Regions from separate parts of the Homo sapiens genome. Here regions 1, 2 and 3 are each linked to region 4. Evidence: promoter capture Hi-C in human tissues and cell types (Jung and others, 2019). All regions are on one chromosome and are shown on one strand. The core of a region is centred on a gene start or on the middle of the fragment in contact, and the rest is flanking DNA. Distances in the headings are between cores, read along the strand shown. Region 1 overlaps ADA (adenosine deaminase). Region 2 holds the start of R3HDML (R3H domain containing like). Region 3 holds the start of SERINC3 (serine incorporator 3). Region 4 holds the start of MYBL2 (MYB proto-oncogene like 2).

The links. Contacts are between HindIII fragments. The study calls those that stand out against the background at their distance.
Region 1: a contact is called between a fragment that was not itself captured here and the fragment with the promoter of MYBL2 in region 4, in 1 of the 25 tissues and cell types used here (spleen).
Region 2: the fragment with the promoter of R3HDML here is called in contact with the fragment with the promoter of MYBL2 in region 4 in 1 of the 25 tissues and cell types used here (pancreas).
Region 3: a contact is called between the fragment with the promoter of SERINC3 here and the fragment with the promoter of MYBL2 in region 4, in 1 of the 25 tissues and cell types used here (aorta).

The regions. Positions count from the first base shown.
Region 1 is chr20:44,636,929-44,641,876 of GRCh38, reverse strand. The region is part of intron 1 of ADA (adenosine deaminase); the gene reads left to right. Among named protein-coding and RNA genes, the nearest start is that of ADA, 12 kb to the left of the region's middle. RefSeq lists an enhancer at 1-4,948. The HindIII fragment of the contact is 5,650 bases long and covers 1-4,783 here.
Region 2 is chr20:44,335,266-44,341,347 of GRCh38, reverse strand. R3HDML (R3H domain containing like) reads right to left here and starts at 4,305. Exons shown (of 5, transcript NM_178491.4): 1 at 3,930-4,305; 2 at 34-152. The coding sequence starts at 4,190. RefSeq lists an enhancer at 4,634-5,623. The HindIII fragment of the contact is 19,264 bases long and covers 1-6,082 here.
Region 3 is chr20:44,520,796-44,526,969 of GRCh38, reverse strand. It overlaps SERINC3 (serine incorporator 3), which reads left to right and starts at 4,900. Exons shown (of 10, transcript NM_006811.4): 1 at 4,900-5,057. The coding sequence starts at 5,019. RefSeq lists enhancers at 47-922, 1,799-2,675, 4,708-5,002, 4,909-5,218, 5,137-5,689. The HindIII fragment of the contact is 6,058 bases long and covers 4,246-6,174 here.
Region 4 is chr20:43,662,983-43,668,363 of GRCh38, reverse strand. It overlaps MYBL2 (MYB proto-oncogene like 2), which reads right to left and starts at 1,250. Exons shown (of 14, transcript NM_002466.4): 1 at 1,061-1,250. The coding sequence starts at 1,080. RefSeq lists enhancers at 345-394, 1,161-1,455 and silencers at 1,045-1,424, 1,161-1,455. The HindIII fragment of the contact is 5,433 bases long and covers 1-4,334 here.

The DNA of each region.
Region 1 (4,948 bases), core at 709-3,208, 970 kb before region 4:
AGAATCCCTTGAACCTGGGAGGCAGAGGCTGCAATGAGCTGAGATCTTGCCACTGCACTCCAGCCTGGGCAACAGAGCCAGACTCCATCTCAAAAAAAAAAAAACAACAACAACAAATAAATAAATGAATAAATACTTTAGCCAGAAGTAGCCATGCAGACCTCCCCCCACCAGTCCCACCCACAAGCGGACGTGACTACCGCCCCCATTCACTGCCTGATCCTCCTGTTCTCAGGGGCTCCAAGGCCAGGCCTGGTTTGACCTTCTGACTTTCTGACTTCCTCCTACCTTCCCAGTAACCTCATGCAACTCCTTTCACTCAGCCTCAATCATCCCCATGGGTGTTTAAACTTGCCCAAGACATGCCCCTTTGAAAAAGCCTGCCATTCTCTTGACCCACATGCACGTCCTGCCCCCTCCAAGGCTGCTAGTTCCTTTAGGGGCAAAATTGTGAAAGAGTAGTCTAAACCTTCTTCCTCTTCTTACCTCCACTTCTTTCTTACCTTATTCCCATGTGGATTCTACCCTCACTCAGGCCTCTAGAACGGTTCCTCTACGGCAGTGGTTCCCAATCTTGACTACGTGTTTTTTTAAAAAAAGTCCTCCACCTGGGCCTGCCACCAAGGATTTTTCTTTAATTGACCTCAGATGGGGTTGAGGCCTTGGGAACTGGCCAGAACTTCCCGTGCTCCTAACTTGCAGCCGGGGTTAAGAACTACTCCTCTGAAGCCCCCAGTGCCTGCGCTTTTAGCCCGACGGACAAGTTTCTGCCCTTCCATCCTGTGACCTCCAGCAGGGCCTGACCATGTGAGTTTTCTGTGGCTGCCGTGACAAGTTGCCACACCCTGCATGGCTTCAACCAACAGAAACGTGTGCCCTGGCAGTTCTGGGGGCCAGAAGTCCAACATCAAGATATCATCAGAGCCACATGCCCACTGAAGGCTCTCGGGGGAATCCATTCCTTGCCTCTTCTGGTTGCTGGTGGCTCTAGGCATTCCTTGGCTTGTGGCTGCATCATTCCAGTCTCTGCCTCTGAGGTCACGTTGCTGCTTCCTCTTGTGTGTGTTTCTCTTAAAACTCTCTGCTTCTGTCTTATAAGGATACATGTGATTGCATCTAGGGCCCAACCAGATAATCCAGGATAAACTCTTCCTGTCAAGACATTTAATAATCACACTTTGCCATATAAGGTAATTTTTTTTTTTTTTTTGAGGTGGAGTTTTGCACTTTCACCCAGGCTGGAGTAAAGTGATTTAATCTCGGCTCACTGGAATCTCTGCCCCCAGGTTCAAGCAATTCTCCTGCCTCAGCCTCCTGAGTAGCTGGGATTATAGGTACCTGCCACCATGCCCAGCTAACTTTTGTATTTTTAGTAGACATGGGGTTTCACCATGTTGGCCAGGCTGGTCTCGAACTCCTGACCTCAGGTGATCCACCCGCCATAAGTTAATATTTTTTTTTTGAGAGGGAGTATTGCTCTGTTGCCCAGGCTGGAGTGCTAGTGGCTCAATCTCGGCTCACTGCAACCTCCGCCTCCCAGGTTCAAATGATTCTCCTACCTCAGTCTCCTGAGTAGCTGGGACTACAGGTGCATGCCACCATGCCTGGCTGATTTTTGTATTTTTAATAGAGAGGGGATTTCACCATGTTGGCCAGGCTGGTGTTGAACTCCTAACCTCAAGTGATCCACCCACCTCAGCCTCCCAAAGTGTTGGGATTACAGGCATGAACCACCACGCCCGACCCATATAAGGTAATATTTACAGGTTCTGGGGATTAGGATTAGCATGTAGACAGCTTTGTGGGGGCCACCATTCAGCCCACTATGCTAACCCTGTGAACCGTTGCTCGCTTCTCCTTGACATCTGACGGCCTGGCCTTCTGCATACCACACACCCTCCCACCTCTCTGGCCACAGTTCTGTAGGCTCAGCCTCCTCCGTAAGGCCATTAAGTGCTTGTGCTGGTCAAAGTTTCATCCTAGGCCTTTTCCTTACCTCCCTTGATATTTTCTCCCTAGGTGAGCTCCTTCAAGCCCACAGCTTCTGTGCTTACCCACACTCCTACCTACATTCCCAGCTTGGGCTTCTCAGGCCAGCTCTAGACTCTTGTATCCCACTGGGTTCTTCCACTTACCTTTGGATATCTCAAAGGCATCTCCAGTTGGCTGGGCACGATGGTTCACACCTGTAACCCCAGCACTTTGGGAGGCCGAGGTGGGCAGATCACTTGAGGTCAGGAGTTCAAGACCAGCCTGGCCAATATGGTGAAACCCCATCTCTACTAAAAATACAAAAATTAGCTGGGCATGGTGGTGGGTGCCTGTAGTCCCAACTACTCGGGAGGCTGAGGCAGGAGAATCGCTTGAACCCGGGAGGTGGAGGTTTCCGTGAGCTGAGCTGGAGCCACTGCACTCCAGCCTGGGCAACAGAGTGAAACTCCGTCTTAAAAAAACAAAAAACAAAAGGTGTCTCTAGTGTAACATAACTAAAACCAAACCAATCATGCCTCCCTCCCCCGCATCCTCCCTCCTGGAGGGAGCTCCAGGACTTGGTCTTCTCTTCCAGAGTTCTCTGTCTCAAACTGCGGGAATTGCTCCCCACCCAGGCCTAACCTGAAGTGTGAGCCTTGGCATCTCTTTCTATCCACCTGTTTTTCCTCTATGCACCTCACAACCCTGGTCCAAGCCACCGTCATCTTTCAAATGGCTGCAGTAGCCTCTAACTGGCCTTGGAGGAGCCATCCTCTTTCTCTAACCAGCTGCCAACCCTGCAATGGCCTCTGTGTGCTTTCCAGATAAAGCCTGACTCCTCGTGGCCCGCACAGCCCTGCCTGGGTGGTCCTATCCTGCAGCCTCTCCAGTACCATGAACCCTCCCTTCTCTGAACCTCTATTTAATCCATTTCATATACCCCGTTTTCTCCTGCCATAGGGCCTTGCACATGCTGTTCCTTCTGCCTGGAATTTTCTTCCTGCCTCCCTCCGCACCCCTGCCTTGTGTTGTGGGTTCCTCGCTATCCTCTAGCTTTTCGCTCAGGCTCATTGTTGGCCCTCTAGATGTATTCACTTCTCTTGTTTGTTACCCTCTGTCATAGGACTGTGTTCGTACTTCCCAAGGAGTCGTCTTGGTTTGTGACTGTACATTTTCCCATGTGACATTTGCTTAATGCCTCTCCCACTCTGGGGCCTGTACAAGCCCCAGGAACAGGACTTGGACCCTCCTGTTTAACTCTACAATCTAGCATCCAGCAGGAGCGCAGGCCTTCGTTGACTTTTATTTTATTCTTATTTTTTATTTTTGAGATGCAGTTTCGCTCTTGTCGCCCAGGCTGGAGTGCAGTGGCGTAATCTCGGCTCACTGCAGCCTCTGCCTCCCAGGTTCAGGTGATTCTCCTGTCTCAGCCTCCCAAGTAGCTGGGATTACAGGTGTGCGCCACCACGCCTGGCTAATTTTTTGCATTTTTAGTAGAGATGGGGTTTCACCATGTTGGCCAGGCTGGTCTCAAACTCCTGGCCTCAGGTGATCCACCCACCTCGGCCTCCCAAAGTGGCTGGATTACAGGCGTGAGCCCCCATGCCCAGCCTTCATTGACTTTTAGTTGACAACTATTTAGCATTTGCTATGTGCCAAGAACTCCCTGCCTACTAATGCAGTTAACCCTCATGAAGCCTAGAAGGAAGGACTGCCATTCTCCCCACTTAACAGATGAGGATGCCGAGGCACAGGAAGTGAAGTGACTTTCTCAGGGTCAAGCAGGGAGTGAGTGGAGGAGCCGAGATTCCAGCTCTAACCGCATGATGCTCTATACAGTGTGACTCCGGCTCTCTGGCTGGGCCCTCTCCATAGCCCTGTGAGGGTTAAGGATAGAAAACAGAGGCTCAGAGAGTTGAGGTCCCTTGCCTGAGGTCACACAGCTGGTTGGCCGTTCCCTGGGCTATAAGCTTCAGTATTCCCAATGCTGAGCATATTTTGAGAACCCGAGAAACAGACGTTTGGCTGGGTGGGAACTGAACTCATTTTGTCAGGGAATTCAACAACTAAGTTGGCCCTGAGACTGGGTGTGAAGACCGCTCTGTCCCCTGCCAGCTGGATGACCTCAGGAGAGATCTGATGACTCTGAGGTCCTGCTGATAGGACCTCTGGTGTCTCTGTTCCCTGCTGGCCTCCCCTGGGCCTGGGTTGGGTTTCCTCTGCAGGAGGCAGCTCATGTATGTGCTCCTAGACGCCCTTGGGCCAGCAGCTCCTTGGCTGTTCCTCCCTGAGCCAGGGCAGCCAACTTTCTTATCCAGCTCTCCATGCTCCCCACCCCAGCATGAGATGTCAGCTGAGAGTTTTCTGGATCTCCCCTAGCTAGGGGGAAAGCTTCCATCATTTGGAACAGGAACAGCAGGAACAGCAAAGTCCCTTTCCCCACCATCTCCCACTGCCTGCTGTGCTTCTCCTAACAGCTCATGGTAAACACCCTGACTGAGCGGCAGGGGCTGTTTCCTTTGGGCTATCCATGTCCACCTACACTGCCCTTTTTAATCCTTACAATTTTTCTTGGACACGGGGGCATAATATTCCATTGTTTTTCAGTTGAGGAAACTGAGGCTCAGAGAGGTCAAGTGTCTTGTCTGAGGTCACACAGCAGAACTGGGAGTCAAGCCAGATGGGCTGCCTCCAAGGATCCTACTCTTAAACTCTAGAGTACTAGAAAGATCTTCCGTTGCCTAATATTGATTCCTGATAGGCTATGCTTGAGTAGCATCTGCTTTTGAAAATGGAGCCTGGGTCGGTTGCGGTGGCACATACCTGTAATCCCAGCACTTTGGGAGGCTGAGGTGGGTGGACACCTGAGGTCAGGAGTTCGAGACTAGCCTGAGCAACATGGTGAAACCCTGTCTCTACTAAAAATACAAAAATTAACTGGGCGTGGTGGCACCTGCCTATAGTCCCAGCTACTCCG
Region 2 (6,082 bases), core at 3,056-5,555, 670 kb before region 4:
GACTGAGTGAAGGAAGGGCAGAGGGTCACTCACTGGCCAGAATGGATGGAGAGGTTCTGGCCCACGTATCTCATCAGCTGTGAAGGCCCATGTGCCCAGATGCACTGGGTGGCCCAGGCTTCGGCAGCCCTGGCCAGCCGCTTGTCCCAGACCTGGGGAAAGAAAGGCAATGAAATTCCCCAGGGGAATTGCCACCATCGTCACAACTGTGTCCAGAGATGCACATTTACCTGGTGCCGTTTCTACCCCATCTCCCTGGAACCCTGCAACAAACCCACGTGACAAAGTAGAAGACTGAGGCTCAGCTCGCTGATGACTTGAAGGGCAACCATGAGTCCATACCAGAGCTGGGGTCCACACCCAGATCTCTTGACTCTGAGCTTGGGCTCTGCTCTGAGCAGGTCCCAGGGTGTTCGTACAGGAGTTCTCAGCAGTCCCTAGAAGTGACTGAACCCAGAAGGATGAGAAAATAACTAATTCTTAAATTGTACTTATAGTATTTTCTTTTTCTTTCTTTCTTTTTTTCTTTTCTTTTCTTTTTTGAGACAGGATCTCACTCTGTCACCCAAGCTGGAGTGCAGTGGTGCGATCGCAGCTCACTGCAACCTCTGCCTCCTGGTACAGTGGGAGGTGGTGAGGTGAGAGGCGATCCTCCCACCTCAGCCTCCTGAGTAGCTGGGACTGCAGGCGCATGCCACCACACCTGGCTAATTTTTGTAGAGACAGGGTTTTGCCATGTTGCCCAGGCTAGTCTCCAACTCCTGGCCTCAAACAATTCACCTGCCTCAGCATCCCAAAGTGCTGGGATTACAGGGCACTTCGGGAGGCTGAAGCAGGTGGATCGCACCCGGCCTTGTAGTATTTTCTAAATGTGTTTATTTTAACATTGAAAATGGTTAAGTCAAAAGCTTTTTTAAATCGTGAAAATATGCATAATTTTAATATGTAAGATATCCGCTTGGGCACAGTGGTTCACGCCTGTAATCTCAGCACTTTTGGGAGGCTGAGGCAGGCAGATCACTTGAGGTCAGGAGTTCGAGACCATCCTGGCCAACATGGAGAAACCCCCTCTCTACTAAAAATACAAAAATTAGGCCAGGCATGGTGGCTCACATCTGTAATCCCAGCACTTTGGGAGGCCGAGGTGGGCGGATCACCTGAGGTCAGGAGGTCGAGACTAACCTGGCCAACATGGTGAAACCCTGTCTCTACTAAAAATATAAAAATTAGCCGGGTGTGGTGGCGGGCACCTATAATCCCAGCTATTCGGGAGGCTGAGGCAGGAGAATCGCTTGAACCTGGGAGACCGAGGTTGCAGTGAGCTGAGTCCATATCATTGTACTCCATCCTGGGCAACAACAGTGAAACTCTGTCTTCAAAAATAATAATGATAATACAAAAATTAGTCAGGCATGGTGGTGTGTACCTGTGGTCCCAGCTACTTGGGAGGCTGAGGCACGAGAATTGCTTGAACTCAGGAGGCAGAGGTTGTAGTGAGCCGAGATCGTGCCACTGCACTCCAGCTTGGGCAACAGAGGGAGATTCCGTGTCAACAACAACAAAAATAGATAACCAAGGAGGAACAGTAGAAAGTCTCATCTCTCTCCTATACTTCTCCCCCAACCCCACCACCCTGCACACCGTCCCAAGAGGCAGTCACCACTGCTTCTTGTGTCCTCTGTATACAGGTATATATTCTATACCTGTACAAGCAGCTCTCTATATATACACACACACACAGACACACACACACACACACACACACACATATATATAGGCAAATGGCAGCATATTCTATTCTGCACCTTGCTCTTTTGTCTTAGTGATTATTCCCCATCACTACATGGTGAATGCCCTCCTCATCCTCCTTAACAGTTTTGTAATTTTCCAATGTATGAATTCTCCAAGTTTTATAACCAGAAAATATGTCATTAAAATACTAGTTCCCTTCCATCTCTGACTTCCTGGGATTCTCTGAAATAGGATTTGTTCATTCATCAAATATCAAACAACATCTCTAGGCACTGAGGACTCAGGGTAGCAAGGCAACAAGGCCTTCAACAAGTCATTGATTATTACAGTCCTGGTCGGTGTGAGAGTGAGAAATGGGAGCCAAACTTTCTTGCGGCAGTGAGAGAAGGGCTGCTAGGGCAAAGGCTGTCGAGTTGGACAGCCTGTTCTGTGAGTAGAAGTCAGCTAGGGAGGGAGAAATGGGGCATCCAAAGAGGGGTCCAGGTATCTACCAGGGTTGTCTGGCCCAATATTTTTTTTTTTTTTTTTTTTTTAGATAGAGTTTCACTCTTGTCATCCAGGCTGGCTGGATCTCGGCTCACTGCAACCTCGGCCTCCCAGGTTCAAGCGATTCTCCTGCCTCCACCTCTCAAGTAGCTTGGGATTACAGGCGCTCATCACCACACCCAGCTAATTTTTGTATTTTTAGTACAGACTGGGTTTCACCATGTTGGCCAGGCTGGTCTGGAACTCCTGACCTCAGGTGATTCACCCACCTCGGCCTCCCAAAGTGCTGGGATTACTGGCGTGAGCCACTGCGCCCGGCTCTCTGGCTCAGTCTTTTAGGGAGAGCAGAGGAGTGCTTCCCTCATGCTACAAAGGGGTAAAGTGAGGGAAGGAGCAGGCTAAACATCAAACCTACATGTTCAGGCCCTCCCTGGAGTCCCTGGTGAGATATTGAACCCTCTCTGCTCCATGCCGCCTGCAATCATTAAACACCTGTTGGGGCAGGTGCCACACACGCACAACGGGTGCTCAATAAATGTGCCATTTGTTTGAAAAATGGAGGGCATTCTAGGTGCTAACGAATGAATGAACAAGTCAATGACTCCCCTGCACTCTAGCTGCCTGCCATCCCGGCTCTTATTCCCGCCCCTCCCAACACTGTATTGCCTCCTCACGTTATCTTATGTACATTAATATCTTGTTGTTCATGCTTGTTTTCTCTTATTCCCACTAAAATGTCACCTTCGTGAAGGAAGGGGCCTTGTCTATTCTGTTACCAGCAGTATCCACAAGGCTTAGCACGGTGCCTGGCTGCAAGTGTACTCCAAGTATAAGTCAATGGATACGATGAAAAAGTTAAGTTTTCAGGCTATCGAGTGGCATGTGTTGGTCTTTCAGGGGGCAGACTGGCAAACTCTTTCCCTAAAGACATCTCTGGGTGGGCTGGAAACCCATCCCTCTAGGCTGGTTTTGGACAGTGGCCCTGGGGGAGGAGCTGTAAGCAAAAGGTTGGTGCCCTCCTTTGACTTCTTGGGGGCTGGAGTGAGAGCCACCAGCCCTGCCTCTTTGAGGGGAGACATCCCAGCTTCCTCTGCTGGTCAGCTGTTGGTTTTCCTCAGCCTGAGATTCCCCAGTACCTGTCCCCACTGCTCCAAGCCTGCCTCCAGGGGCTTGTGGAGGATGCTGTGGGTGTGTCAGTCAAGACCTTAGGGTAAAGAGACAATAGCATAGAAAGCACCAGCCACGCACCCCATGCAGGTCCCCAGTGTGGGGAGCCAAAATTCTTGGGTAGGGGATTGTGATGGTTACAGTTGTGATGGTGCCAGGTGGCAGCAGGCAGACCTGGATTGAAATCCTGGCTGGGCAAATTAATTCTCTGAGTCTCAGTTTCTTCCTCTGGAAAATGGAGATGATACTCACGTGCAGTGCCTGGCGCACAGTGGTGCTCCTTACATAGTAGTCACATGCCTGACTCACTGGAACAGCTGTGCAACCTTCTTGGTTTCCTCATCTGTAAAATGGGCAGATTAACTCCTGCCCTTTCCACAGGTCGACACCCAGATACTGGCTAGTGGGGCCAGGCAGGCAAGTGGTCCAGCTCTTCAAAGCCAGTCATTCTAGGCCAAGATGAGTCCGGCTGCGTTTGCCGGAAGGGACACTGCGGGGGGTGGGGGGCAGGTACGGGGACTCACCATGTATTCCATGTTGGCGGCAGGTGGGTACACACTGGCCCGGATGTGGTTGTGATAATCCAGTAAGGCATTCATGTCTCTCACAGAGATGTGGCGCTTCCGGCGGTACCTGGGCACCTCCAGGCCACTCAGGAGCCGCATAGCCGTGCTCTCGGGCTGGGCCGGGGCTGGGGTAGCATTAGGCATTATCAAGGCGTTCACTGCCTGGCCAGCCCAGAAGAGCAGGCCTGCCAGGCCCACGGTGCTGGGCAGCAGGGGCATAGCTGGATGGAGGAGTCACAGGTCTGCCTTGTGCAATCAGAGCCGGCTGCCTGGAAGGGGCAGGCACGAGAGCACCAGACCCTGAGCGTTCTCCAACAGTGCCGACCCAGAGGATGCTGCCTCCTGGGAACTTGGCAAAGACCTCCAGATGCAGCTCTGGTCCAGATGCCCAGCACCCCTTCCTTTCCACCCCAGGGGACTGAGTGGGTTGGGCAAGGGGAAGAAATGCCCAGACAGTGGCTAATCCAGACATGGCCCTGGGGTGAGATGGTGCCACCACTTCAAAGCCAGTGCTCTGTCCCTCCAGCCCAGGAGACAGACAGCAGCCCTCTCCAGTCTAGACATCCTCTTCACCAATCCTGCTGGAGCGGGCTCAGTCAATGCCCTCGGAGGGCAGGGCCCACCTTACCCCAAGTCATATTGCAAGGTCCTTTTGTCCCTGCTTTGCTGCAATTTAGGAATTGAGAATGAGACACAGAGAAAACCCAATGGCAGAGAATGAAAGAGGCAGAGAAAAAAGAGAGACCAAAAAGGGGACAGAAAAAAAGAGTTACAGAGAAAAAAGAATGAGAAATAGAAAGGTAAAGAGATAAGAGAGAATGAGAGAGAGGCAACAATGTGGCTGGGGGAGGACAGAAATAGACAGAGAGAGGGGCACAAACAGAAGAAAGAGCGAAAAATCGACTTAGAGAAGAGACAGAGAAGCACGAGAGACCAGGCAGGAGGCTCCAACGGTGCGTACCCAGGACGGGCAGCCCAAGCGGTGGCAGGCGGCAGCCCAGGAGGCCGGGGACCTCTGCAGACACCCTGGCCCACCTGGCGGCGCAGCAACTTTAACGGTCCCCTGGTGCTGTTGGCATCTGACGTCCCTGGCCCCACAGCCCCCTCCCCTTCCAGCCAGGCCAGACTCCTGCAGGGAGGCTCCGCCTGCTGCTTGATGGGCTTTTCTCTCCCGCCCCTCTCTCTCTGCTTTCACCTGAAGCATGTAGGGCTGGGCTGGGCAAATGGTCAGGGTAGTGATGTGGCAACAGGGCAGGGATTCCAGGAAAAAATACTCATCCCCTATGGGAGATCCCAGACCCCGAGGCTTCTCTCTGCCTTCCACATCCTGACATATTAAGGCCACCTTGCATCTGGAGAGTATTTTCTGACTGTTTTCCCTATAACACCCTCCAGCCTTGGAGCAGACAGTTAATATGGCCCATCTAGTGAGCCCCTGCTATGTGCCAGGCCCAGGGCTGAGTGCTTTACACAAAAGCCCAGCCAACCTTCAGAAGCAGGTACTATAGCTCCCCATTTCATAGATGAGGAAACTGAGCCCCAGAGAGGAGAAAGAACAAGCCCAAAGTCAAGCCAGCCAGTCTGCAATCACGCCAGGATTTAAGTCCAGATCTGACCCCAGGCCTGGTTAGTATCTAAAAGGATGCCTTTTCCTTTTCCTTTCCTTTTTTTTTTCTTTCTGTTTTTTGTCTCACTTTGTCGCCCAGGCTGGAGTGCAGTGGCGCAATCTCGGCTCACTGCAACCTCGATTCTCCTGCCTCAGCCTCCTAAGTAGCTGGGGCTACAGGTGCACACCACCACACCTGGCTAATTTTTGTATTTTTTAGTAGGGATGGGGTTTCACCATATTGGACAGGCTGTCTTTCTTTTTTTTTCTTTTGAGACAGAGTCTCGCTCTGTCGTCCAGGCTGGAGTGCAGTGGCACAATCTCGGCTCACTGCAACCTCCACCTCCCAGGCTCAGGTGATCCTCCCATCTCAGCCTCCTGAATAGCTGGGGCCACGGGCACGCACCACCATACTTGGCTAATTTTTTTGTATCAGCCAAAGATGCCATTTTCTAACCAAACCAAATATAGATGCATAAGGAAAAAAGCCTAGGGTGATGTTCGT
Region 3 (6,174 bases), core at 3,651-6,150, 850 kb before region 4:
CACCATTTTCCCTCTCAGCTGTCACCATTGGAGGGTGTCCAGGTTCTTGGCATCTTGAACAAAGAATTGGACACAACACACAAAGCAAGAAGGAATGAAGGAATTTATTGAAAATGAAAGTATGGGCTGGGCGCGGTGGTTCACGCCTGTAATCCCAGCACTTTGGGAGGCCGAGGCGCGCGGATCACGAGGTCAGGAGTTCGAGACCAGCCTGGCCAACATGGTGAAACCCCGTCTCCACTAAAAATACAAAAAGTGGCTGGGCATGGTGGTGCACACCTGTAATCCTAGCTACTCAGGAGGCTGAGGCAGGAGAATTGCTTGAACCTGGGAGGTGGAGGTTGCAGTGAGCCGAGTTTGAGCCAGTGTACTCCAGCCCGGGCCACAGAGCAAGACTCCATCTCACCAATTCACTCCGCAGTGTGGGAGGGGGCCCAAGCATAGGAGCTCAAGGGCCCCTGTTACAGAATTTTTGGGAGTTTAAATACCCTCTACTTGGGACACGCCCTATGTAAATGAAAAGGATGAAGTAAAGTTACAAAGTCATTTACTTGGCCTACACCCTATGGAGAGGATATTTCCTGTCATAGCTGAAGTGTGAATCAGCCTTTTGTTCCCCGACTCCAGACTCTGTTTTCCTGCCTTAAAGCATGCTTTCATCTCAGGGCATTTTCTCCTGCTCTTCCTCCAGGTATCTTTATGGCTTGCTTCCTCGGTTCCCTCATGTCTGTGCTCCAGTGTCAAGCCCTCTAAAAGACCTGCCCAGACTACTCTTGAAAATAGTAGGGCCGGGCGCAGTGGCTCGTTCCTGTAATCCCAGCACTTTGGGAGGCCTAGGTGCGCGGATCACTTGAGGTCAGGTGTTCAAGACCAGCCTGGCTAACATGGCGAAACCCTGTCTCTACTAAAAATACAAAAATTGGCCAGGCATGGTGGTATGTGCCTGTAATTCCAGCTACTGGGGAGGCTGAAGCATGAGTATTGCTTCAACCCAAGAGGCTGAGGTTGCAGCGAGGTGAGATCATGCCACTGCACTCCAGCCTGGGTGACAGAGTGAGACCCTGTCTCAAAAAAAAAAAAATAAATAAATAAAAGAAAAGAAAATAATGGACCCCCACCAACTCTGTATTCTCCTTTCTCTTTTTTCACAGCTCTTGTCAGTGTCTGAGTGTTATATTATATACGTGTGTGTTTGCTGCTTGTCTTTTTTCCCTACAGCATAAGGTCTTTTAAGGGTGGGCACTTTGTTTTGTTCTCTACTATTTTCTTATCACTGGCAACAGTGCCTGACACATAGTAATAGCATGGTAAATATTTATCGAATGAACTAATAAGTTAAGTGAAAAAAAAGCGGCGGGTGGATCACCTGAGGTCAGGAGTTCAAGACGAGCCTGGCCAACATGGTGAAACCCTGTCTCTACTATAAATACAAAAAAAAATTAGCCAGGCATGGTGGTGGGCACCTGTAATCCTAGCTACTCAGGAGGCTGAGGCAGGAGAATCGCTTGAACTCAGGAGGCGGACGTTGCAGTGAGCCAAGATTGTGCCACTGCACTCCAGCCTGGGCGACAGAGCGAGACTCTGTCTCAAAAAAAAAAAAAAAAAAAAAAGTGCCATAATGCTGGCATATGCATATTCCTGTAGGAACTCTGAAAGGAGATCTGGGAGATGGGGGTGGGGGAAGGGTGGGAAGGACACTTCATTTTCACCGTGTGCTCCTTTATGCAGTATGTTATAACCAAGTACATGTGTTATCTTTTCAACAACATATGGGGGGAAATAACCTAGGTTTTTTTACTCGCGTCCGTGTGAAGAGACCACCAAACAGGCTTTGTGTGAGCAACAGGGCTGTTTATTTCACCTGGGTGCAGGCGGGCTGAGTCCGAAAAGAGAGTCAGCGAAGGGAGATAGGGGTGGGGCCGTTTTATAGGATTTGGGTAGGTAAAGGAAAGTTACAGTCAAAGAGGGTTGTTCTCTGATGGTCAGGGGCGGGGGTCACAAGGTGCTCAGTGGGGGAGCTTTTGAGCCAGGATGAGCCAGGAGAAGGAATTTCACAAGGTAATGTCATCAGTTAAGGCAGGAACAGGGCATTTTCACTTCTTTCGTGGTGGAATGTCATCAGTTAAGGCAGGAACAGGCCATCTGGATGTGTATGTGAAGGTCACGGGGTTATGATGGCTTAGCTTGGGCTCAGAGGCCTGACAGGTTTGACAATGGATGTGTAAAGATGGGAGGAGCTGCCTTGGGTGGCAGTGAGCCCCCTACCCTAGAAGAGATGTTGCTAAGGGGTTTCTGCCTGAGGCGGGAAATTGGAGTAGATGATCACAAAGATCTGCTGTCCTCGCTTTGGCCAAGTAGAAGTGACACACTCAACCAGTTAGGGCCAGAAACACTAAGAGATGGGGGGATCCTACATGTGGGAGGACAAATGCTTACAGGTAAGAAAATGAAAAACTGTTCAGCTGACAGCTAGACCTAATGTTTCTAACTGAACAAAAACAGTGATCACAGAATATAAACAAAGATCAGACAAGACCACCATGTAGTTGGATCAAGATACAGACAAAGCCACTCTGGTACCGCAGATAGGACTCAACATCTTCCAATTCTGACTAATAAATGAGTGGATTTTGCTTCTTTTTTTGTAACCGAGCGAATTATAGAGAAACGCCACACTCTGAGACGAATTCAGGAGTCCTTTATTAGCCGGCAACTGAGAGATGGCTAGTGCTTAAAATTCTCTCGGCCCCGAAGAAGGGGCTAGATTTTCTTTTATACTTTGGTTTAGAAAGGGGAGGGGGAGCCTAGCTGAGGCAATCTTACAGAAGTAAAACAGGCAAAAAAGTTAAAAAGACAAATGGTTACAGGAAAACAAATAGTTCCAGGTGCAGGGGCTTTAAATCCATCACAAGGTGATAGATGTGGGGGCTTTGGGTACCATCAACCGGACAAAAATGCAGGGGCTTAGGGTACTATCAACCGGGTGAATTCCTGGAAACTGCAGCTATCGCTTGCCACAGTATCTTATCAGTTAATTGCATTCTTTGATGTGCTGGGAGTCAGCTTGCACAAGTTAAATCCTTGAGGAAGTGGGATGGGTAAGGAGCGGCAAGTGAAGGAGCCAAAATGGAGTTTGTCTGTCTCCCTCAGCTAAGAGAGAGTCAATTCAGGTTAAGACAAGGTAGGGTATCACACTTTTCCAAGGACTAATCTAGCCTTGTTTTAATCCTTCTTCCTTCTGGATAAAAATTTGTAAGATACCTAATCACTGAATTGCCTCTACTCCTTGACTGTGTCCAATCCAAAACTGTTCTCCTCCTCCTTAAACTCTCCTTAGATTTAGTTACCCAGCATAAACCCAAATCCTAAAATAAGTTCTCCCCAGTCACCTCTTACCAAGACACCTTATATTTTCTCTGATATGTGTTCTCCCTTTCTGAACAAGCTAAATAAACCTAATTCTTTTTGACTACAGGTATGTTTCTGGTAGAATTCGATCTGTAAAATTTATCACAGTCAGCTCTCTTAAGTCCAGACCAGCAATACTCAGACAGGAAGAAGCAAGAATGTTAAGGACTACCTGGAAAGTTCAGTGGTCCTGAAGCAACTTGACTTGAGCTGGTATTTGTGTATGTGTGGTGAGGAGAGGGATCTGGGAAAAGAGAGGTAGGAATTATTAAATGTGAGTAGTTCTCTTTCTTCTTTCATCAGCCCTTTTCATGGCCTTGGGCAAACTTTGAGCCTCATTCCATTTCTGTAAAAGATGAATTTGGAATACATTTTCAAGGAATCCAGGAAATAACATCCCCAAATATGCCACACTGGTATGATGATTGCTTGGGGAACAGCACATGGAGAGAGGGGCTTTTCATGAATTTCCCTTATCAGACTAAAGGCTGACAATCCAGAAGGAATTCAATTATGAATCCCCTTCCAGAGAGTTTTATCTATCAGGGAAGATTAACACACCACAGGAGAAGATATTGAAGTGTGACACCTTGTTGTCCGGACATCATCATTGTTTGCCACATTCCACCTAAACTATTATATGTGTAAGTAAAAAATGTTTTCATTTTCTTCTTTAAGTGAACTCTCAAATTTGACATGTATTTTGAAAGGAATATTTACATCACTGCTTAAATGGGAAATCAGCATTGCTCGGAAGAAATGAAAAGGTTATTGCTAACACACACCTCAAAACAAAACAATATTTTAAAACTGCAGGCATGGTTGCCTGTTTGAGAGATCTGGAAAATGAAGGCTTTACTCTGTTAGAAAGGGAGATAAATACTAGAAAAATGTTAAATACCATACTGGCCTCAAACAACTAGCCTGTTGGTTTGAAATGGGACGTTCTCACTCTGCTGTTTAATATCGCTTAATGTCCTTCATGCACCCTTAGAGCCATTCATTTTTCCCAAATGGGGTGCATCCCACATTTTAGGATACGATTTCCATCGTTTCTAGGTTAATTTGGACTCATCCTTTAGTTCGCAGATTAAAAAATAAATCCTTCAGAGAAGCCTTCCAAGACTACTGCCCAGCTAAATTACTTTCCCCTTACAATAGGAGGCACTAAATACACCTTTATTGAAAGCCTATTCCCCCATACTACTTCATCGTATTCATTACATTGGGGCACGGTGCATTTATGTTGTCAGATCTCCTATTAACTAGAGAATAAATTCTGAGCGTACTGTGCCTCTCTGTACACTTCTGTAACTTCCAGATCTTTGCACAATGAATACAAATGATGTAAGGAATGACACCTTCACAGTTCCTGCAACCCCAGGATGGTTTAGCCCCACCTTCCCCCTCAGCCAATGACAGGCGCCCCCCTCTGCCGCTCCGGTCGCGGACGGTGGGCGGGGCCACGCCGTGACGCATCCGTGCGTCTGTGGAAGGCTGCGTTTCCGGCCTGAGAAACCGTCATGTTTCTGGGGAGTCACCTCAGCTGGCAGTTACCACCGTGTTAGAAAGCAGCCTCAGGACCGGCCACCTCCATCACTGGCGTCACCATGGGGGCTGTGCTGGGTGTCTTCTCCCTCGCCAGCTGGGTGAGTTCGGGGTCCCGAGTCCTCGCCGGACCTGCGGTTTGCGGGGAAAGGCCTCGAGACCAGAGCTGCACGGGCCTTGGCTCCAGAGGCTCTCGGGATGTCAGCAGGCCCTGGGCTACAGAGGGTCTCCGGGGCCCCAGACGCAAATCCGCGATACCCTCAGGTCCAGCTTAGGCGGCTCGCCCTCCGGGTTCCTCGGGGAACGGAAGAGGCTAGGCCGCCATTGTTTACAATTCGGATGGCTCCGCCCTGCGAGGCTTCCTGACTAGGTTCCTCTGGAGCTGGAGAGGGACCAAGGAATGACAGCTCCCAGCGAGGGGCTCCGGTTCCTCCCGAAGCACCTCTTAAGGTGCCATCATTTAGTTCTAGGTGGCTCAAGTAATATTTTTATCCCCTAGCACGGGATTTGCCAAAACTACAGAGTGTGTGGCAAAGCTGGGGTTTTAGCGGAGGCTTGTCTGCAGTTCAGGTGCAAGGGAAAGAAGCCCTTGTGGATTGTTATTCAAAATTGGAAACCAGGGCCTGAATATTTTGGGACTGCTGTAAGTCATTTATCCGAGGATAATCACCCCAGCATTCCTCTCTTCGAGAACGATTGTGACAGTGAAGTGAAGGTTTAATCACCTTGTAAACTGTAAACATTTTAAAGAGAAAATTATAGGGCCTATAAAAGAATATGCTGAGTTCCCTCATTTACCCACTTCAGAGGAGCGTGATTCCTTGATTCCTCATTCTCCAGCTGATTTAATTGACCAAGTGTGTAGAAAAAGCACACTCAGTTTCTCCTGCTGTACTCACAACACACTTTTGACACCTGATGTGTGGTGTGTGGGGATTTTCCCCCAAACATCAGGCAAACAGTCAGCTCTGCAGGGGATGCCAACTTGGTGCCCTACAAGTCAATTCCGAAGCTCTCTACTTGGAGATAGCATCAAATCACACAAGTGGAGGGCTCAGTCTCACAAGACTGTGCCCACTTTCTGTGCCAATGGCAAGCCTCAGGTTGTTTTACCTGTGCTTCTGACCGGCCACCTATAAATCAAAGTTCCCGTGACCTCCCTCCTTGGCTTTGATTAATTTGGTCACAAAACTCAAGGAAACATGTTTACTGGTTTAT
Region 4 (5,381 bases), core at 1-2,500:
CCCGACGTGGTGACACGTGCCTGAAGTCCCAGCTACTCGGGAAGCTGAGGCAGGAGAATCGCTTGAACCTGGGAGGCGGAGGTTGCAGTGAGCCAAGATCGCGCCACTGCACTCCAGCCTGGGCATCAGAGCGAGACTCCTTCTCAAAAAAAAAAAAAAAAAAAAAAAAGAGGGAACGAAGGTTATCTGAGCTGCAGCGATCCAGGCAGGGAAGAGGTCAGGACCCCACTGTCCTGTCTCCCAGGCAGGCTGAAAAGCTTGGAGCTCAGGCCCCAGGCGCACAGGTGTAAGACAGGGATCTGGAGCCACAGACCTGGCTCCGGGCTCAGCTCTGCCACTTAAGTCTCTGGGGAAATAAGTAAAATGGAGACCGCAGTTCCTGCCTTTGCCCCAGGGACTCTCTCTCTCCCCCGCACCTTCAACCCCAGCTGCCCAAAACTCCTCGTGGGAACAGGAAGAGAGGTCTCAAACCGAACCAAGCTGGGGCGCGGAACCCAGGTGGGAGAGACAAAAGAGCCCCCAACTCAGCACCCTTCTCAGTCCAGGGGAGAGGGCTTGGGGGACTCTGTGCTCCCCGGAATGTTAAGGAGCAAAGCCCACCCACCAAGTTGACCCAAAACTAGGCTGCAACAAGTGCCTCCCAGGCTCGGTCTCCCACTGGCTGGGACTTGAAGACTCCCTCTCGCTCCCAGGGGTCGCCTCCCTCGCCGGCGAAGGCCCTGCCAGCTGACACCGGCCGGCCCACCCCCATCCCGCAATTAGGCGGGAGACAAAATGACATCATGCACGGCTTGGCCCGGGTCCCAAGAGACCCGCCCGTCCCAGCTCCGAGGCCCAACAGGCCTGGGGAGCCGCGAGGGACGCCCAAGAGCCCCCCAGCTTTACGCGCGCCCCTGCCTCAGAGGGCCCAGGACGCAGCATTTCCGCGGAAACACCCCACCCCCAACACACACACACACCCCAGCTTGGTGGGAGCCTGGGGAGGGTCGGGGGTATCTGGGTGGGGGAGGGGTGAGTTAAAGGGAGGGGGAGGGGCCCAAGCCCTCCCGGCTCGTCTCACCAGCGCGTCCGCCGAGACATCCCCCCGGCCCGGACCGCGCCGCGCTCGCCCGCCCGCCGGCAGAGCCCGGAGCGGGAGCCGGGCCGGGGTCAGGACCCGGGCTGCTCCGGCCGCTCCGGGCCCCGGGCCGCGCTCGAAGGCGTCAGCGTGTCAGCAGGTCCCGCGCTCCTCGCTCGCAGGAACTGCAGTCGCCGCCGGCGCGGGTTGAAGCACTTTTCTATCTCCCGCCAAGCGCGTCGGCGCCGCCCAGTCCTGGCGCGCGGGCGCCGGGGGAGGGGCCTGAGTGAGGGGCGGAGCCAGGGGGCGGGGCGGGGCGGGGCCTGCGGGGCGGCACCTGCCCAGACCCTCCAGGGCCGGCTGCAGGACAGGGGCGGCGGCCGCTACTTCGGAGTTGTGGAGCGGGCCGGGATGTGACCGAGGCCTGGCTCACGTGTCAGTCCGGGGCGGCCCAGGAGTATCCCACATAGCGAAGACCGAGGAAGGGGAGCGAGGCGCGAGCATGGGAGAGCCAGCCAGGGAAAGCGCCAGGGCGGAATCCCCCACGCTAGTCCAAGCCACTACTGGGTCCCTAGAGCCGCACCCTAAAGCGGCTCCTCACCCTACCTGTGCCTCTCCCTGCTTCCTCTCCTGCCTCCAAGAGACCCTCCTTAATAGACTTTATTTTTTGTTGTTCATTTTTCTTAGAGGCAGGGTCTTGCTCTGTCGCCCAGGCTGGAGTGCAGTTTCGCGATCATAGCTCACTGCAACCTCCACCTCCTAGGCTCAAGCGATCCTCCTACCTCAACTCACGGGTAGCTAAGACCAGGCACTCGCCACTACACCCGGCTGATTTTTTTTTTTTTTTTTTTTGAGACGGTGTCTCGCTTTGTCGCCAGGCTGGAGTGCAGTGGCGCGATCTTGACTCACTGCAACCTCCACCTCCCGGGTTCAAGCGACTCCCCCGCCTCAGCCTCCCAAGTAGCTGGAACTACAGGCGCACACCACCACGCCCGGCAATTTTTTTTTTTTTTTTTTTTTTTTTTTAGTATTTTAGTAGAGACGAGGTTTCACCATGTTGGCCAGGATGGTATAGGTCTCCTGACCTCGTGATCCGCCCGCCTCGGCCTCCCAAAGTGCTGGAATTACAGGAGTGAGCCACTGCGCTTTTTTTTTTTTTTTTAAGAGAAGGGGGTGTCTTGCTATGTTGCTGTTGCCTAGACTGGTCTAGAAACTCCTGGGCTCAAGAGATCCTGCCGCTTTGTCCTCCCAAAGTGCTGGGATTGCAGGCGTGAGCTCTTTCCAGAATTTAAAACCATCCTCCTCTCCCTCAGGGTAAATTCCTTACTCCACAATCACATTTATCTGATCTTCCAGACCACCACCCAGCCCTGGCCAAAAGAAACGGCCTCTTTGCCTTTGCCTGAGCCATTACCCAGGGCAGGAACACTTCCTGCCCCTCCCACGTGGCTGATTCCTATTTAATTTGGGGTCCACTGCCCACAATCTGCCTGTAGACTTCTGCATTTCCCCCTTTGAACTGGGAGCATCCTGAGGTCCAGGTGGCCTCTCAATGCACACCAGTATCTCCAGGGCCCAGTAGAAGACCTGACATAAGAAGCCCCAGGCAAAGGTTTGTTGCATTGAATTGTTTACCTTGGGTTTAAACTCCCAGAGATTAGCCCAGATTTAGTGGCTCATGCCAGTAATCCTAGCAGTTTGGGAGGCCGAGGTGGGAGAACTGATTCAGTCCAAAAGTTTGAGACCAGCCTGGGGATCAGAGTGAGACCCTGTCTTTACAAAAAATTAAGAAATTACCTGGCTGTGGTGGTGAATGCCTGTAATCCCAGCTACTTGGGAAGCAGAGGCAGGAGGATTGCTTGAGCCCAGGAGTTCGAGGGGCTCAAGCCCTTGTCATCCCGCCACTGCACTCCAGCCTGGGCGACAGACAGTGAGACTGTCTTTCCTTGAGATTTAGCAAAGGTTTTCTATATTAGATTGACATTTACCAAGTACCAAGGATCAAGTCACACTGGACTTCCTGGGAGCAGTGCTGAGAGGAAGATAAATGAGCTCTGAGACAGGACGCTGAAGAAACCAAATCAAACCCCAGCCTTTTAGCCCCTGTTCAGGCCTCAGAGCCCCCTTCCAGAAGCTGCTGGCCACCTGGGGACAGTCCAGCCACCAGCTGCTGCAAACTTCACTTACCACAGAAGGAAGACTAACTCACATCTTAAGTGCTAGAAGCTTCCACATCACTTAATTCAGGGTTTCTCCCGCCCACTCCCCTTATAAAGTAATTAATGTGGACATGCCCACTTCATTGAAAGCACAGCCTCCACAGCCAAACTTCCTGGGGTTTGAGTCCCAGCTCCACCATTCAGTTGCGGTATCTTAGGCAAATTACTTAACTTTTTTTTTTTTTTTAGACCAAGTCTTGCTTTATTGCCCAGACTGGAGTGCAGTGGTGTGATCTTGGCTCACTGCAACCCCCACTTCCCGGATTCAAATGATTCTCCCACCTCAGCCTCTCGAGTAGCTAGGACTACAGGAATGCGCCAGCATGCCTGGCTATTTTTTGTATTTTTGTAGAGATGGGTTTTCATCATGTTGGCCAGGCTGGTCTTGAACTTCTGACCTCAGGTGATCTACCCGACTCAGACTCCCAAAGTGCTGGGATTACAGGCATGAGCCATCATGCCCAGCCAATTACCTAACTCTTCTGTGCCTCAGTTTTCTCACCTGGAAAAATGGGATTTATCAAAATTTTAGATAGTTTTTAAACTATCAGCCTCCCAAGTAACTGGGGTTACAGGAGCACGCCGCCATGCCCAGCTAATATTTCCAGCCAGCATTCTGTTTATAAATTGTAACTCATTTAATCCTTGTAACAACTCTATGAGGTAGATACTGGGATTATCCTCTTTTAGCAGATGGGAAAACTGAGGCACAGACTTCCCCAAGGTCACAGTGCTAGTAAATGGCAGAGCAGGGATTCAAACCTGGCCTGTCTAGTTCTAGAGTCTATGCTCTTAATCACTATACTTTGTAGGTAATTATAGGATTAAATAAATTAATATGTGTAAAGCACCAAAAACAGTTCCTGGCACATAATGAGAGCTATATTGGCCGGGCACAGTGGCTCATGCCTGTAATCCCAGCAGTTTGGGAAGCTGAGGCGAGTGAGTCACCTAAGGTCAGGAGTTTGAGACCAGCTTGGCCAACATGGTGAAACCCCATCTCTACTAAAAATATAAAATATTAGCCGGGCGTGGCGGCATGCACCTGTAACTCCAGCTACTCAGGAGGCTGAGGCAGGAGAATCACTTGAACCTGGAGGCGGAGGTTGCAGTGAGCTGAGATCGTGCCACTGCACTCCAGCCTTGGCAACAGAGCAAGACTCCGTCTCAATAACCCCAGCCTCCCGAGTAGCTGGGGTTACAGAAGCACTCCGCCACGCCTGGCTAATTTTTTGTATTTTAATAGAGATCGGGGTTTCACCATGTTCCCCAGGCTGGTCTCAAACTCCTGATCTCAGGCAATCCACCCACCTCGGCCTCCCAAAGTGCTAGGATTACAGGCGTGAGCCACCGCGCCCAGCAAAAAAAGAACTATATTACTGTTAGCTATTATTACTACTGTAATTCTTCAGCTGCCCTCACTCTTATCCTTTGAGGTCCACACATTAGTCATCCCATTTCAGGGAGAGGCAGGACCTGACAGCTTGGGCAAGGTATCTGCCCAAAGCAAGAGGCAGGGAACAGCTGCAGAGTGCACTTGCAACCTGGAACTGGGGCCAGTTAACCAATGCCCCAGAGCCAAAGAAGCCTGGAGTCAGTGCTGTGAGTCAGGCAGCAGGGAGATCACCCTAGTGCCAGATGGAATCTGATGATCTCCACACATTTCCTCTCCAGTTATCATCATACCAACAGATATCCCCTGGAGAGAGGATTCCCAGTGTCCCGAGTGAAACCACACCTGGGAGTGGTCCCTGGACTCTGGACTAGTAACATACAGAATTTATCTCTGCTGGGAAACTTTTCCTGAACACGCCCTCCTTGGACAGGGAGGCTCCAGGTATTTGGTTATTCCACAATTTGCCCCAACCCCCAGGCCTGACCCTGTGTTGGGAAGATAAGGGTCAAATCAATTTATTAAATGCTCAGGGCTCAGCACCAGCTTGGACACCAAACACTAATTGATGATAAGTAGAATCACATGGCCCTTCTGGCTGGAGTCTTCCCCCTCCACCTCCAGAGCATCCTCCTTATCATTCTTGTCCTCATCACACTTCCTCCACCATTTTATTTCTCTCTCAAGAGAAAGGACAGCCTGTGCACATTTT